Linked DNA regions of Homo sapiens: all the other regions are linked to region 2. The links are contacts of gene promoters, found by promoter capture Hi-C in blood cells and fetal thymus (Javierre and others, 2016). All regions are on one chromosome and are shown on one strand. The core of a region is centred on a gene start or on the middle of the fragment in contact, and the rest is flanking DNA. Distances in the headings are between cores, read along the strand shown. Region 1 has its middle 7.3 kb from the start of ALKBH8. Region 2 holds the start of DDX10 (DEAD-box helicase 10). Region 3 has its middle 120 kb from the start of LINC02715. Region 4 overlaps ALKBH8 (alkB homolog 8, tRNA methyltransferase).

What was found. The method cuts DNA at HindIII sites, captures the fragments that hold promoters and counts their contacts. A CHiCAGO score of 5 or more calls a contact.
Region 1: a fragment that was not itself captured here is called in contact with the fragment with the promoter of DDX10 in region 2 in 6 of 17 cell types (total CD8 T cells, total CD4 T cells, naive CD4 T cells and 3 more); the score reaches 7.9 in total CD8 T cells.
Region 3: a contact is called between a fragment that was not itself captured here and the fragment with the promoter of DDX10 in region 2, in 2 of 17 cell types (M2 macrophages and M0 macrophages). The highest score is 6.1, in M2 macrophages.
Region 4: a fragment that was not itself captured here is called in contact with the fragment with the promoter of DDX10 in region 2 in 1 of 17 cell types (total CD8 T cells); the score reaches 5.3 in total CD8 T cells.

Annotation. Positions count from the first base shown.
Region 1 is chr11:107,571,172-107,574,987 of GRCh38, forward strand. No RefSeq gene overlaps it. Among named protein-coding and RNA genes, the nearest start is that of ALKBH8, 7.3 kb to the left of the region's middle. The HindIII fragment of the contact is 413 bases long and covers 1,879-2,291 here.
Region 2 is chr11:108,662,595-108,666,409 of GRCh38, forward strand. DDX10 (DEAD-box helicase 10) reads left to right here and starts at 2,475. Exons shown (of 18, transcript NM_004398.4): 1 at 2,475-2,745. The coding sequence starts at 2,560. The HindIII fragment of the contact is 12,853 bases long and covers 1-3,815 here.
Region 3 is chr11:109,940,117-109,943,563 of GRCh38, forward strand. No RefSeq gene overlaps it. Among named protein-coding and RNA genes, the nearest start is that of LINC02715, 120 kb to the left of the region's middle. The HindIII fragment of the contact is 2,399 bases long and covers 717-3,115 here.
Region 4 is chr11:107,550,345-107,553,918 of GRCh38, forward strand. It overlaps ALKBH8 (alkB homolog 8, tRNA methyltransferase), which reads right to left. Exons shown (of 12, transcript NM_138775.3): 4 at 3,503-3,574; 5 at 2,764-2,859; 6 at 1,464-1,568. Among named protein-coding and RNA genes, the nearest start is that of ALKBH8, 14 kb to the right of the region's middle. The HindIII fragment of the contact is 688 bases long and covers 1,545-2,232 here.

The sequences.
Region 1 (3,816 bases), core at 835-3,334, 1.1 Mb before region 2:
GGGCCATCCCATCTGATAACCAACAAGGAAATGGGGACTTCATCCTGCACACACAGGAACTGTCTTCTGCCAACAACCTGAATACGTTTGGAAGCAGATCCTTCCAAGGGTATCTTGATAAGAGCCCAGCCAGTTGGCTTCTTGGGATTTTGTCTTTATGAAGTTCGGAGCAGAGAAGTCAACTGAACCAACCCAAACTTACAACCTACAGAACTGTGATATAATAAATTTGCGTTGCTGTGAACTGCTAAACTTGTGGTAATTTGTTACAGCAGCAATAGAAAACTATTACACACTCTCACCCCCATATCAAACAGTAGCTAAGGGAAGTAGAATTACCATGACTGCTATAAGGCCAATCATGATTCACTCTGTGGGGCTTGGATGAAGTGTGTCCTCCCTGAGATCAAGAGACCTTGACAGACTATGGGCAGGGAATGAGGGGAATAGGTTTCTATTAGCAAGAAAAAGGGGAGACAATCATTGGGTAGACCACTAACAGTGTGTCCCATAAGGGATGGAGCACTTATTTTTGGCCAGATTGTCACATTACGAGCTCTCCCCAAACCTATGAGAAAAGGATGCTAAAAGAATGGCCACTCTTCAATTAGCCAGACATGGTGGCATGCACCTATAGTCCTAGCTACTCAAGAGGCTAACATGGGAGGATCACTTGAGCCCAAGAATTCAAGGTGACAGTGAGCTATGATTGCACCACTGAACTCCAGCCTGGACGACAGAGTAATGAGCACTCTCATCAGCTAATAAAGCATCCAAAACTAGAATTCTTACAGCTATTGTATTCTAGTTCAAGAGTCTTCAATCAGAAAAAAATTGAAAATGGCCCCAATAGTCCTTGAAAATTGTTACATTTTTACTGTAGTTCCAAACTATGAAACTGTTTGACTGCAGTTTCAAACTCAATTCCTATGGTTATGAGGTTTCTAACCTCGCCCTTCTCCCTACAGCCCCTTTCCCCACCATCTGTTTCTGGCTACTTTCTAGTTTTTCTTCCAGTTGTCCCCTGTGGCAACTGTACTAGTTTTGCTTGTTTTTCTATTTATGGTTTAAAAAAAAAAAGTTTTATTTCTCAGTCTTTCCTCTCATTTACTCTTCTGCTACTTATTTTATTCCTCCTGGAAAAATGACAAATTTGTATCAAGTTTTCTTTCCAAAGTTGTGTCTTCTCTGCTGCTTCCCTGGTTGCTGGCTTCTTGAAACTTCAGCAAGAATGCATTATGTAAAACCATTTGATGTTCACTGTGACATTTCAGGACTGAATACATTATTCACGCTATGGTGATAAAAATTCAATGAAAAGTTTGCAGTTTTATAAGTCATATGGTGAAAGTATTCCCTGTACAGTAATTAGAGGCAAAAGGTAACCAAGAAAAAAAACAGAGGAGAAGGAAAAGGGTCAGCCTTTAATTTATAATACAAAACATAAAACTCAGCTTGGAGAATTCATTTATTATTATTATTTTTTTTTTTTGGTCATTTGCAAAGCATACAATTTTAGCTACGAAGCATTAACCTCCCCCAAATGGTCTATTTATTCTTGAGGCTAAAGGCCTGCTTACTTTGCAGAATAATTTTCTTTTCTACACAGATTTTTTAAATAGATGAGAATAAAGAACTAGCAGGCAACTCAGGGTGCAGGAAAATCTTTGGGGTGGCTAGAGGTGTGGGATTTGTGGATTTTAAAAGGTTATGATAAAATAAAACAAAATCTTTTAAAAATGTTTCCCTTAAATGTAGAAGAAAAAAGTATATTTTAAAAATGTATAAACATTTCATTTAAAAATGTCTTGCCACATTGATGGCTTCATTCTATCATTAATTTCTCAAAGACACAAAGATATTTGCCCAGAGAGGGCAAGCTTCATTATTAACTATATTTGTGATCGCTTCTAGTTTGGGGAGTAGACTTCTTGTCAGATCTGATTAGATAGTCTCAGCTGTTAGGTTGGGACTGAGAGCTCATACTAGGAGCATTAATTTTGCTATTTTCTGTTGGTTATTTGTGCTTGAATTATTGTCTATATTCATCTTCACTGTAGGGAATTCAGAGTTTTCTAACCCACTTGTCCATTTTGCAAAAAATAGTTTTTGGATTACATAATCCAAAAATCCATTTATCAGGCACCACAAAAAAATAATGTCTCGCTTAAATCAAAAGAGGGAGGATGCCAGAGGCAGCTGTCCTGCCTGTGAGCTCTCACTCCTCTCCTCTTCTAGAGCACCTCTCATAAAGTCTGTGACATGTAACATCAGACATTCACACCTAATGAAGCTTCCAGGATATTAAATGTGAATAGAGATTAATTTGTTTTAGATAAACATATAAATGGAATTTCTAGAATATTCTTCTAAATCCCACAAGCCATACACACTTCACTTTAGAGGCCACTGCACTAGGGCATGTTCCTCAAAGGCTGGTTCTTAGACTACTTGCATCAGAATCACTGAAGTGCTTGGTTAAGTGGTCTCCAACCCCACTAGACATAACGAGTCAACTTAAAGCACATATAAATTTTAATTCTCTGAACACCAGTTGGTTACAGTGTGTGCTCCAAAATCTCTGGGGCCAGGGCCCAGTAACCTGCATGTTTAACAAGCAATTTTGCTACTTTTGCAAGTGTTCAACCACTGAGGAAAAAGATTGTATGTTATTTGTCAACATAGACCTCTTTAAAAATCATCCCCAGAGTGAGAAGCTGCCAGATTTCTAGTATATTTGGAATTCTCATTTCAAGGGAAGTATTTTAATTTTATAAGGTGCAAGGACCAAGAAGCAGATGATTCAAATTTCAGATTATTAAATTATTAAAGAATAATAGATTATGTTTTATAATTTGACAAAAGTTTTTAAAAAATTTTTAATAAAAAATAAAAACAACTCTTTTTGGCATCTCTTATATCCCATTTTACAAATGTAACAACTGAGACTTAAAGACAAAATGTATGAGCTGTTTAAATATAAATTTTTTTATTTTTATTTTTGTATTTTTTTGAGATGGAGTCTTGCTTTGTTGCCAGGCTGGAGTGCAGTGATGCAGTCTCGGCTCACTGCAACCTCTGCCTCCTGGGTTCAAGTGATTCTCCTGCCTCAGCCTCCCAAGTAGCTGGGACTACAGGCATGCGCCACCATGCCCAACTAATTTTTTTGTAATTTTTAGTAGAGATGGGTTTCACCATATTGGCCAGGATGGTCTTGATCTTCTGACTTCATGATCCGCCTGCTTTGGCCCCCCAAAGTGCTGGGATTTAAATATAAAATATTTTAAAGAGTGATTTACATCCATGTCTGTTATCGCATGAGTAAAAGAGCTAGCTTTTATTTTATTTTATTTTTTATTTTATTTTTTGAGACAAGAGTCTTGCTCTGTCACCCAGGCTGGAGTGCAGTGGCGCAATCTTGGTTCACTGCAACCTCAGCTTCCCAGGTTCAAGCAATTCTCCTGCCTCGGCCTCCTGAGTAGTTGTGATTACAGGTGCCTGCCACCACGCCTGGCTAATTTTTGTATTTTTAGTAGAGACGGGGTTTCACCGTGTTGGCCAGGCTGGTCCCGAACTCCTGGCCTCAAGTGATCCTCCCGCTTTGGCCTCCCAAAGTGCTGGGATTACAGGTGTGAGCCACCGTGCACGGCCTAGGGCCAACTTTTATACGTTAAAACATGTACCTCTTTACATCTACCTTTTATTACAAGCACAAAGTGCTTAACATACACTATTCCTGAATCCTTCAATAACCGTACAAGTTTTATTCTCCCAATTTTACAAATGAGCTCTGAGGCTCAGAGAGTTTAAGCAACT
Region 2 (3,815 bases), core at 1,225-3,724:
CCATATTTAAGAATAAGGCTGAGTAGAAATGAGTGAATGGAGGGCTTATTAACTGATAAGTTTCACTAAAGAGCAATGGGGTGGTTAGTGAGTTGTCATTTATTTGGCTGCTGCCAAAATGTCTTTTTTCTTTCTCTCTCTTTTTGTTTTTGTTTTTGTTTTTTTTTTTTTGAGACAGAGTCTGGCTCTGTCACCCAGCCTGGAGTGCAGTGGCAGTATCAGGGCTTACTGCAGCCTTGACTTCTGTAGGCTCAAGTGAACTTCCTGCCTTGGCCCCCTAGTTTCTGGGACTACAGGTGTGTGCAACCAAGCTCGGCTAATTTTTTTGAATTTTGGTACAGGCAAGGTCTCACTATGTTGCCCAGGCTGGTCTCGAACTTCCGGGTTCAAGCAATCCTCCCACCTTGGCCTCAGAAAGTGCTGGGATTATAGCTATGAGCCACCGTGCCTGGCCCCTAGATGTTATTGAGGTCTTTCTCTTGGACATTCAGTTTTCCTAGAGTTGAACCTTCCAGTTTCTTGCCTGGGGCGCATATATGCCTGACTCCTACAGTTTTAGGAAAAAAGTGAGTTATAGCTGAGGGCCTTATCGTTCTGTAGGTATGCATATGTGGTATACATATGTAGTAAAATACACATCACATAAAATTTACCATTTTAGCCATTTGTAAGTATACAATTCAGTTGCATTAATTACATTCTCATTGTTGTGCAACCAATCTGCAGAACTCTTTTCATCTTACCAAACTGGAACTCTGCACTGATTAAACAGTAACCCCCTGGTTGCCTGAGTCCCTGGCAACCACAAGTCTACTTTCTCTATTATTTTGACAACTCTAAGTTTCTCATATAAATAGAACCATATATAGTATTTGTCCTTTTGTGACTGGCTTATTTCACTTAGCTTAATATTCTTAAAGTTTATCCACGTTGTGGCATGTGTCAGAAATTCCTTCTTTATGAAGGCTGAATAATATTCCATTTTAGGTACATATTATGTTTTGTTTACTCATTCATCAGTTGATAGACACCTGGGTTGCTTCCACATTTTAGCTATAGTGCTGTGGTGAACACGGTATGCAAATATCTGAGACCCTGCTTTCGATTATTTTGGCTATGCATACCCAGAAGTGAAATTGCTGGCTCACGTGGAGTTCTATTTTTAATTTTTTGAGGATGTATATACACTTTCATGTAATCACTCCTTATTGAGCTTTACTGTCTACCACATCTAGTGTTCCTGAGTGTGGAAATTCTCTTGTTCACCTCCTGTCCTCACTCCCTTCCAATAAGCCATGTCTTGTTTGGAGGATGGGCATAGAGTTGAGAGTAGTGATCTGGATATGTGGGGTTGGAAAGGAAATTTGAGAGCCCAAAATTCTGCCTGTGAACTTTGAACTCAATTTTCCAATCTCCTTTGCTACAGCTAAGCTCTCCCACCCACATCCGGTGTTTTCCTGGAGGCTGTAGGTAAATGTGTCAAAAAATTCAATTCATTGAAAGCCAGTTCACTTAAATGTCCAACTTGCAATAACTTTTCTATTACCTCCTTTTTTTTTTTTTTTTGACGGAGTTTCACTCTTTCACCCAGGCTGTGGTGAAGTGGGGCGATCTTGGCTCACTATAACCTCCGCCCCCGGGGTTCAAGCGATTCTCCTGCCTCAGCCTCCCAAGTAGCTAGGATTATAGGTGTGCACCACCACGCCTGGCTAATTTTTGTATTTTTAGCAGAGACAGGGCATCACCATATTGGCCAGGCTGGTCTCGACCTCCTGACCTCAGGTGATCCACCCACCTCGACCTCCCAAATTGCTGGAATTACAGGCGTGAGCCACCGTGCCCGGCCTCTATTACCTACCTCCTTACGTTTAGTTATCATTTTGTCTCCATAAAAGCATTTTAAGGCAAATTCAATTTGATTCCGTTCCAGTTTCCTTGCTGTTGCAGCTAGAGTCTGAGGGGCCCAGAGGAAAAGGAAAACCCAGAGGGGCATAAGAAGAATATAGAATATTCATTTTTATTCCTGAGGAAGTACAACCACCATGGATGGAAATCAGAAGTCACTAACTAGCTGTTTACTTCTGGGCAAATCTTTTGGCTCGTTGGCCCGAAAAGTGCAAAACGAGGGTCACAATTTTCATTCACAGATTGTATGTGTTTACACACATACTCACGAACGCTTAGCAAAGTTGAACCTGGAGCAAATGTGTTAATAGCCCTTAAAGGGTCAGTGTATGACGTCACCATAGTAACAACAACAGTGCGCATGCGTTTTTTTTTAAAGAGCCGGCGTGCTCCCGGCTCGGCTCAGCTCGCCCCCTTCCGTGGAGTGCTGCGCCCCCGTTTCCCCAGGCTGCCCCTCCCAGCAGGAGCCAATTCGCCAATCACAGCCCTCCTTTTCCTGACGTCATTGGCGCGTGCCCCGGTTTCAAAAGCTCGGGGGCGGGCTTCTGAGTTCGCGCATGCGCCTCTGTGCGTTTGTCCCATGCTGGTTCCGTGAGTCTGGCCTTAGGTGTCTCGTGTCTGGGGTTGATCCGAGCTGTCGCCGCCGCCGCCGCAATGGGCAAAACGGCCAACTCTCCGGGTTCGGGAGCCCGACCCGACCCGGTGCGGAGCTTCAATCGCTGGAAGAAAAAACACAGCCATAGGCAGAACAAAAAGAAGCAGTTGAGGAAGCAACTGAAGAAACCCGAATGGCAGGTCGAGCGCGAGAGTATCAGCCGCCTCATGCAGAACTATGAAAAGGTGAGGCCGGCGCTGGGGAGGGGGCTCGGGCCGGCCAGCAGCGGGGCAGCGTCTCACTGCGGCGAGGAGTTGCAGAGTGGAGGCGGCGGATCTGTCACCGGGACCCGGCCGGGAATGAGAGGTCACGCCGGGTGCCACAGCTCAAACCTCTGCACCGTTCTGGCCACTCTTCTGCTTGCCACACTGTTCCTAAAAAAATAATAGAAATGCGGCCGTACCTAAGGGTAGGGAGACTAATGCTGTAATAGCTACAGTCATATTCATATTAATAATACTGATGACAATAGTGGTAATAATGACACCTACATTTTTAAGCACTCACCATGTGCTTACAGTAATTGTTTGACTTGATCTGAGGTATGGATATTAATAATCCTATTTAACAGATGAGATAATTGAGGTTCTAAGAGGAATGAAACTTGTCCGAATCTTTCACGCTTAGTAGGTGGTGTGGAATTGGAAGCTAGATCCATGTCTTTCTAATCCCAAAGCCTTTGCTTTTAACCATGAAGCCAGACTGCATCCCTCAACATCATCTATGCTCCTTCCTGTGGCCACCTCATTTTCTCCACAGGCTTCATGTCCCCATCCAAGAATTGGCCTAGAAAAGCTGGACCGCTGGTCTGTTTCTGTCACCTATCATCCCCACATTGTAGCTGGTGTTCCCAGATGAGTATACCTGTAATGATCACTTTGACCTCCTGACTTCTTCCCCCAACCTCCAGACTCCACAGGTCTGTCAATTCCTCTTTTCCCTTTCCCTAAATCCCATGTTTGTTGGTCTTCACCCACATCTTTCAGCTTCTCAGCCCCCTTCTAGTGCAGTACAATCAGGGATTTAACAGATGGAACATTCTTGTAACTAAGGTTGCCATTGTAACAAATTACCACAAACTTGGCGGCTTAAAACAACAGAGATCTTGAGGTCAGGAGTTCGAGACCAGCCTGACCAACATGGTGAAACCCCGCCTCTACTAAAAATACAAAAAAATTAGCTGGGCCTAGTGGTGGGTGCCTGTAATCCCAGCTACTCGGGAGGCTGAGGCAAGAGAATCGCTTGAACCCGGGAG
Region 3 (3,447 bases), core at 666-3,165, 1.3 Mb after region 2:
TGATTTTAAGATAAATTCCAGACATTTTAACATAACCTAAAAATCTTTATGTGATCTGACCTCTGCCCAGATGATCTCCTGCCATTCTCCATCCATCCCTGTGTCACTGACACCAATCCTCTCTATTTATCCAAAGGACTAATCTTCTTATAGCCTCGGGGCCTTTGAACATGCTGTGCCCTGTGTCTATTCTGCATTCTGTCTTCTCACTAATCACAAGCCATCTTTATACTTTGTTACTTAATATCTATTTCTAGGCCAGGTGGGATGGCTCACACCTGTAATCCCAGCACTTTGGGAGGCTGAGGTGGGCAGATCGCTTGAGGTCAGGAGTTCAAAATCAGCCAGGTCAACATGGTGAAACCCTGTCTCTACTAAAAACACAAAAATTAGCCAGGCATGGTGGCTCACACCTGTAATCTCAGCTGCTACTTGGGAGGCTGAGGCAGGAGAATTGTTTGAACCCAGAAGGTGAAGGTTGCAGTGAGCCAAGATCGCACAACTGAGCTCCAGCCTGGGAGACAGAGTGAGACTCCAGCTCCAAAAAAAAAAAAAAACCCTATCTCTAAGCTCAAATTTTAAAGCCTATGAAGTCAGGTAACAAGTCTGTCTTATTCATTTCTATATTCAGGCCAAGATTGGCAATTAGTAAAAAATTTGCTAAATGAGTTAAAGAATTCATTATTGCCTCCTATAATTTTCGATTATTTTAAACAAGCTTCTTGCCTAAAGAGTAAGCTCCTCAAGGCAAACAGTCATCAAATTCTAATAAGACCTAAGGTTGGAGACAGTGGCAGAGATGACTCAGACATGACTTGACAACGTAGTGGTGATAGAGCATGTAAACAAGTAACTGTAATACAACATTCAGAAGCGCCATGACACGCAATCTGCACACGTTTCTTTGAAAACAAGGAGGAGGAAGGGTTCATTCAGCTTAGCTGAATCCGGGCAGACATGGAAAAGAAGGTAAAATTTAAGCTGAAGTTTTGACGAACAAGGAAGAGTTCACAAGTAGCAAATCGGTGAAGGATGACTAAGGGGGTAAAGAAGGATGGCTAAGGGGGTAAAGTCAGAGACATGAGAAATAAACAATGGTATAGTGTAGGAAAAGGATGGACAAATGTCTTTTTCTCCACGGGAACCTCCATCCCAGTTAATTAAATGCATAAATAGACATTTAATCAACACTTGTGATTTGACTTTTGGAGAATGGTGAGAAATGTGGGAGTAACAATATTTATGGTATCTTGGCAAAGTCAGAATAAGAGACTAAATAGAACTAGCTTTCTTCCATCTTTAATATTCAACAACATTGAAACAATTGTACTTGATACTACTCTAAGGAAATGCCAATAAAAACATCATTGCCTGAGCTCCCCGTGTGTTTGATCAAATGAGCTTACATTTGAAACCTCTCTGAAAAAGGGTTGTAAAGGGTTGTGAGCTCCAGCTAAACATGTACTCACAAAATTAAACCTAAATTTTTTCCCCGGTGAACACCATTCTCTAGAGATATCTTCAAGTTGGCACTCCTTTTTTCTCTAGCTTCCTGTATTTCTGCCCTGAGAGGATGAGAGAGTGGCATTCTCTTGGCTCTCTGCTAACACCTCTAAGCCAATCTTCAATCACCCTCCTTTGAAAGTCAAGTCATGTCTTTACAGCACCTTTTACTACTCTTTGGCATGCTTTTATCCAATAATAATAAGCATCAGATTTCTCTATTCTTAACTATTATTTCCTAAATCAAAACATAAATATAGATTTAACCAATTAATTGCACTTAAGAAATCTAGTCTCACTCTAAATCTCTTTTGCTTAGAATTAAGTTCCAGAAAGCCAATCCCTCATTGTTTCCTCAATTTTTGGAGAATTGAAAATGTCAACAAAGGAAGTCAAGTTATTTATATTTCAAAAAGAGAAATGTTTAGTACTATACATACATTCTCAATTGTCTAAATAAGATACAAGAAAAAAATCACATAATTGCTGTTTATATGGAAAAAATTGGAGGAAGAGACCCTGTTTATGCAAAGTTTCTCTCTCTAAAGTAGCAAATTAAGCTCCTAGTAGTAGGCAAGAATCAAGAGCAAATTGCAAAAGTGTGATGCTTTGCTTATGTAATGATTTTAAGTAAACAGAAAACAATTGAAAGCCATAATTATGGGTATCTTAGGTAAAGAACTTCTACTGTTTTCATAGTTAGGACTCACCATTCTTTTGTATGATTTGGTTCTTGCTTCCACGCATCCAGTTAATATTAGTGAAATTTATTAGAGAAAGCATTATATATGCTGTACTGAAGACAAACTATCACATTAACGTTGCGTTTATGTCTATGCGTGAGAATTGTATTTCTGTGCCTAAGAACTTTGGGGTAGGATTCATTATTCCTGCTCTGATATTGACACTCTCTCTTTCAACAGAAATGGACCTTTTACAATATTGAATGGATCTCAGAGAAGACAATGAGGGAGGCTATAGTTCTCTAGGACTGAGAGAACAGCTTAGCACATGGGATAGGATTGGATTGAACATCACAGGCATGAGTTCTCAGCCCAACCCTGCCTCAACTGGCTACAAGGCTTTGGACAAGTCCCTTGAGAAATGGAGTCTGGGCCTAGAAGGAGAAGATGGCTCCAAGAGTCCTTCCAGCCTCAAACTACCAGGCTATTCTTCCAATATTTAGGCTAGAAATACTTCAGTTTTCAGGATCTAGCCTTCAGCTGCAACTGATGGCTAAAATGAAGGAGCACTTTAATGATTTAAGAAGCTATTCAGTTGTCATAAAAAAGTAATTTTGTTTCTTCCAAAGCTCCAGATTAGTATGGAGATTTTTCTGCTGAGTCTTATTTTTAAAAGGCATTATGCACATCAAGACTGACATAGCCATAAGGAATTGTAGAAATTTTAATATCTGTTGATGTGGATGAGAAACTAAAATTTCCATATTTAAAACTGTCATTTGACTTTTAAATGGATCACATTAAATTACTGTCAGAAATGTTCAATATTTTCTCATCTATATACGATTGTTTCTTGGTAGATGAAAGCTGCAATCTGGTTTCTTTGGCTACATGGCCATTTTTTCAGTTTGTCCCCAAACTTGCTACCAAGCTTGTCCCCAAAGCAAGAGGATGAGATTAAGTGACTGTGGTGTGTGTGTGTGTGTGTGTGTGTGTGTGAGAGAGAGAGAGAGAGAGAGGAAGAGAGGAAGAGACTGAGAGGAAGAGAGAGAGAAATAGCAGCAGCAAGGTAAGATAATATCTCAAAAAGGTATATTTTATTTATTTTGTCTGTTTTTGTTTTTTTTGAAGAAAGGTATATTTTTAAAATAAGGTTATTTCCCCAAACTATATGAATTTTTTAAATGACACACATAAGGAGAATATTTAAAATAAGAAGCCCAATAATATTTTGTTCAAAGACCTTCCAGTTGCATTTTTG
Region 4 (3,574 bases), core at 639-3,138, 1.1 Mb before region 2:
CTTACAAGCCAATGGAAAGACAGCTAGGTAAGAAAGGCAAAGAAGAAATGCCCTGGCTGACTAGTTAATCTGGGGTCAAGCTTACTTGGCTCAGCCCTTCCCTCTCATTTTCAGAGCCAGCTGGTTTGCAGGAGCTAACACATGCTCCTTCACATTTCATCCTACAGGCCTCTGCGTCTTTAAGAGTGGCCCCGGCCTCTGTGCTCTACAGGAACGGCCTCTGCTTCAGCTTCAGTTGTCTCGCTGTGCTAGAGACAAGGTCAGCATGTCTCTCTAATTCAGAGGTGTAGTATTCACAAATCCACAGCTACAAATCTAAAGCCATCAGTTTTCATTATAATAAATGTAGAAAAGAAAACAAAACTCCATAACTCCTGCCGTTAATAAAACCCTTAAATTAAAGACGTCATAAGTGTGGGGCCCTAATCTTACACGTGGAAGCTCGCTCTCTCTCCATGCACATGCACACACAGAGAAAAGGACATGTGAGGACATTGAGAGAAGGTGGCTGATGACAAGCCAGGAAGGGAGGCCTCACCAGGAACCCAATCAACCAGCACCTTGATCTTGAACTTCCCAGCCTCTACACTGTGAAAAAATACATTTCTGTTGTTTAAGCCAAAAAAAGTAAAAAATAAAACCCTTAAAATCATTTGATTGCTATAAACGTCAGATGAAGATGCTGCTAACAAGTATAAGAAATCAGTATCATAAAGATTTTTCACCAGAATGTCATCCTGCAATTGTCTCCCATATTATCAAATAGAAAGAAGAGAAAGATCATCCAACCAATCAGCCTTCTTCTATCTATAAATTATTTGGTTTCTTCCATTACACGTCTCCTATGTTTTTCAGACCAATGTCTTCCCTCTCTAAAGGAAACGTTGAAAGGGAAACAAACAAAAAAAATCACAAACAGTGATTTGTATCAGTGTGTTTACACTTTGAAATGCAAGTTCCTCAAGGGATTAAAGTGTAGATTTGCAAAGACTGAAGTCAACACAAGTAACAAACATAAGCAAGGCAATCTGACAGTTAATTTGAGCTTAAAAATAATGTATTTGCTTGGCTGGGCGCGGTGGCTCATGCCTGTAATCCCAGCACTTTGGGAGGCTGAGGCGGGCAGATCACCTGAGGTCAGGAGTTTGAGACTAGCCTGGCCAACATGGTGAAACCCCATCTCTACAAAAATACAAAAATTAGTTGGGCCATGATGGTGTGCGCCTGTAATCCCAGCTACTTGGGAAGCTGAGGCAGGAGAATCACTTGAACCCAGGAGGCAGAGGTTGCAGTGAACCGAGACCACGCCGTTGCACTCCAGCATGGGCAACAAGAGCGAAACTCCATCTCAAAAAAAAAAAAATAATAATAATAATAATAATAATATATCTGCCCTTAGAGAATTATATCATCTACTCAGTTCCAAAATATGTGACTAAAATTTTTGAACAAGAAATACTCACCTTGCCCAGGTTCATACTGATTTATGGTCATTTGATCAGGTTTATGTTTAATGTAACCTTTCCTCAACCATTTCTCCAAAAAGCTTTCACAAATGTCAGGAAGACCTACAATGAGTAATCATAAAGACAAAACATTAAAATATTTACTTTGCTTGTTTTACTCAACAATTTTAAAAGTCACTGTGATATAAATCTCTGAGCTTTTAATTTAGCAGTCAGGTCCATTAATAAACCCACAAGCAAAACAAAATTAAAAAATAAAAAAATTTAGGAATCTTTTAAAGTCATTTCATTGATTTTTTTTCAGATAAAAAGTTTAAAAGAACAATTCTAACAACAGTTTTGGTATTTTATAAAATAGCAATAAAATTATAAAAATATACTATATATTGAAATTGTCCACTTTCTTTTTTTGTTATTTTAAATTATACCATTTATTTTAAATTTAATTATTTTAAATTATTTCCCTTAAAAAAAACACATCTTCCAAAGTGGAACTAACTTACTTTTATTGGAGTCATAAATGTTGTTTCATGATGGAAGAAAAGCCTTAAGTGAGACCAAAGTCATTAAAAAAATAGATAAATTTAACTCCAACAAAGAATTATACCAATTATATCAATGGATTAAAAGCCAGAATATACAGTAAATTCTTAATCAATTAGACACTTCATTGGGAAAAAACTGGCAAAGAATATAAAAAGGAATTCACAGGAAAGGAAATACAAATGACCAACCTTACCAGTAATCAAGAAATTATAAATTTAAAAGCTTTACAACACCACAGGTTGGGGAATGGGGAAGTAGGTACACATTTGGTGAGAATATGCTGGTACAACTGTTTTAGGAAGCAATTTGTCAGTATCAATTAACGTTTTTTAGTGAACATAAACTTCAACATGACAATTCTACTTCTTAGTAGTCTCCCTTGAGAAACTCTTGCACAGGGCACAGAGGCATGTTCAAAGATATTCACAGCAGCATTACTTATGAAAGCTAAAAACCAGAAACAACCTAAATGTCTATCGATAGAGAACTATTTGAATAAGCTATTATGGATCATTCAGTAAAATGAGAAGCAGCATGGGAATAAGGATAATAATGATGAACTTCAGCTCTATCCAGTTTGAAATTTTTTTACAACAAAACTATACAATTTATCTAATTAAAGTGTTTTAAATAAACTGTTCAGAAAGTTTATCTACAAATGACAAAAGAAACATAATCCCCCAACTATCATATTCTACTAATATATTAATATTTTTGAGCCAGAATTTATTATGTATTAGCAATTACTTACCCCCAGATAATGGCTTATCTTTATCTACATTGTTGTTCTCATAGTGGAACTCATAACCAAAATGCTTTACTCTTCTGTGTTTTAAGGATTTTTGAGCTGTGTGAAGAGAACAAAGTAAACAATTAAGAAGGAAAAGAATTACATTCCTTTGCATATTTCAGTCAACTTTTTGAGTAAGGATTAGTTTAGTAATGGCAACTTCTGTTAATTGGTAAATTATGGTCTTTAACAAAATTAACCATTTTGCCTTATATTTGTTGTTATTTCAAGTCTAAAATTGTAACAAACTCTTCAAGAGTTTTACCCAATCAATCTGAAAACTAACATGTACACTACCATTTACAACATTGCCAATGAGCTAGAAAGAGTCAGAAAAACTCCAATTTGCAAATATCTCCAGGAAGCTCTCACTATATTATAATATTGTGGTACTGAACTGCTAATTCCTCAAGGAAAACTTGCCTTAGGGTGGGGAGGAATGAATAAAATAAGTGAAAAGGCTTATAAAAGCTATATAAATGTTGGATAATACTAATCAGTTTGGAGTTAAAATTTGATAGCTATATAAATGTTATTTATTATTAATGTTCCTAAGAATTGTTGGTATGACTTGCCTAACATTGGATCCGGGCTAGTTTCAGTAATTTTGAGGAAATATTAATAAACCATGAAAGACAGAGGAAAGGAAGAAGAGTTTTGCAGAAACTTTCAAATATCAGATTTTGAAAGTTTTACTTACAGTTTTGATTGTCTGTATCTTCTGTCCAATCAACACTTTCCAAAAGCATTTTCTCCTCCTCAGAAGAAATTA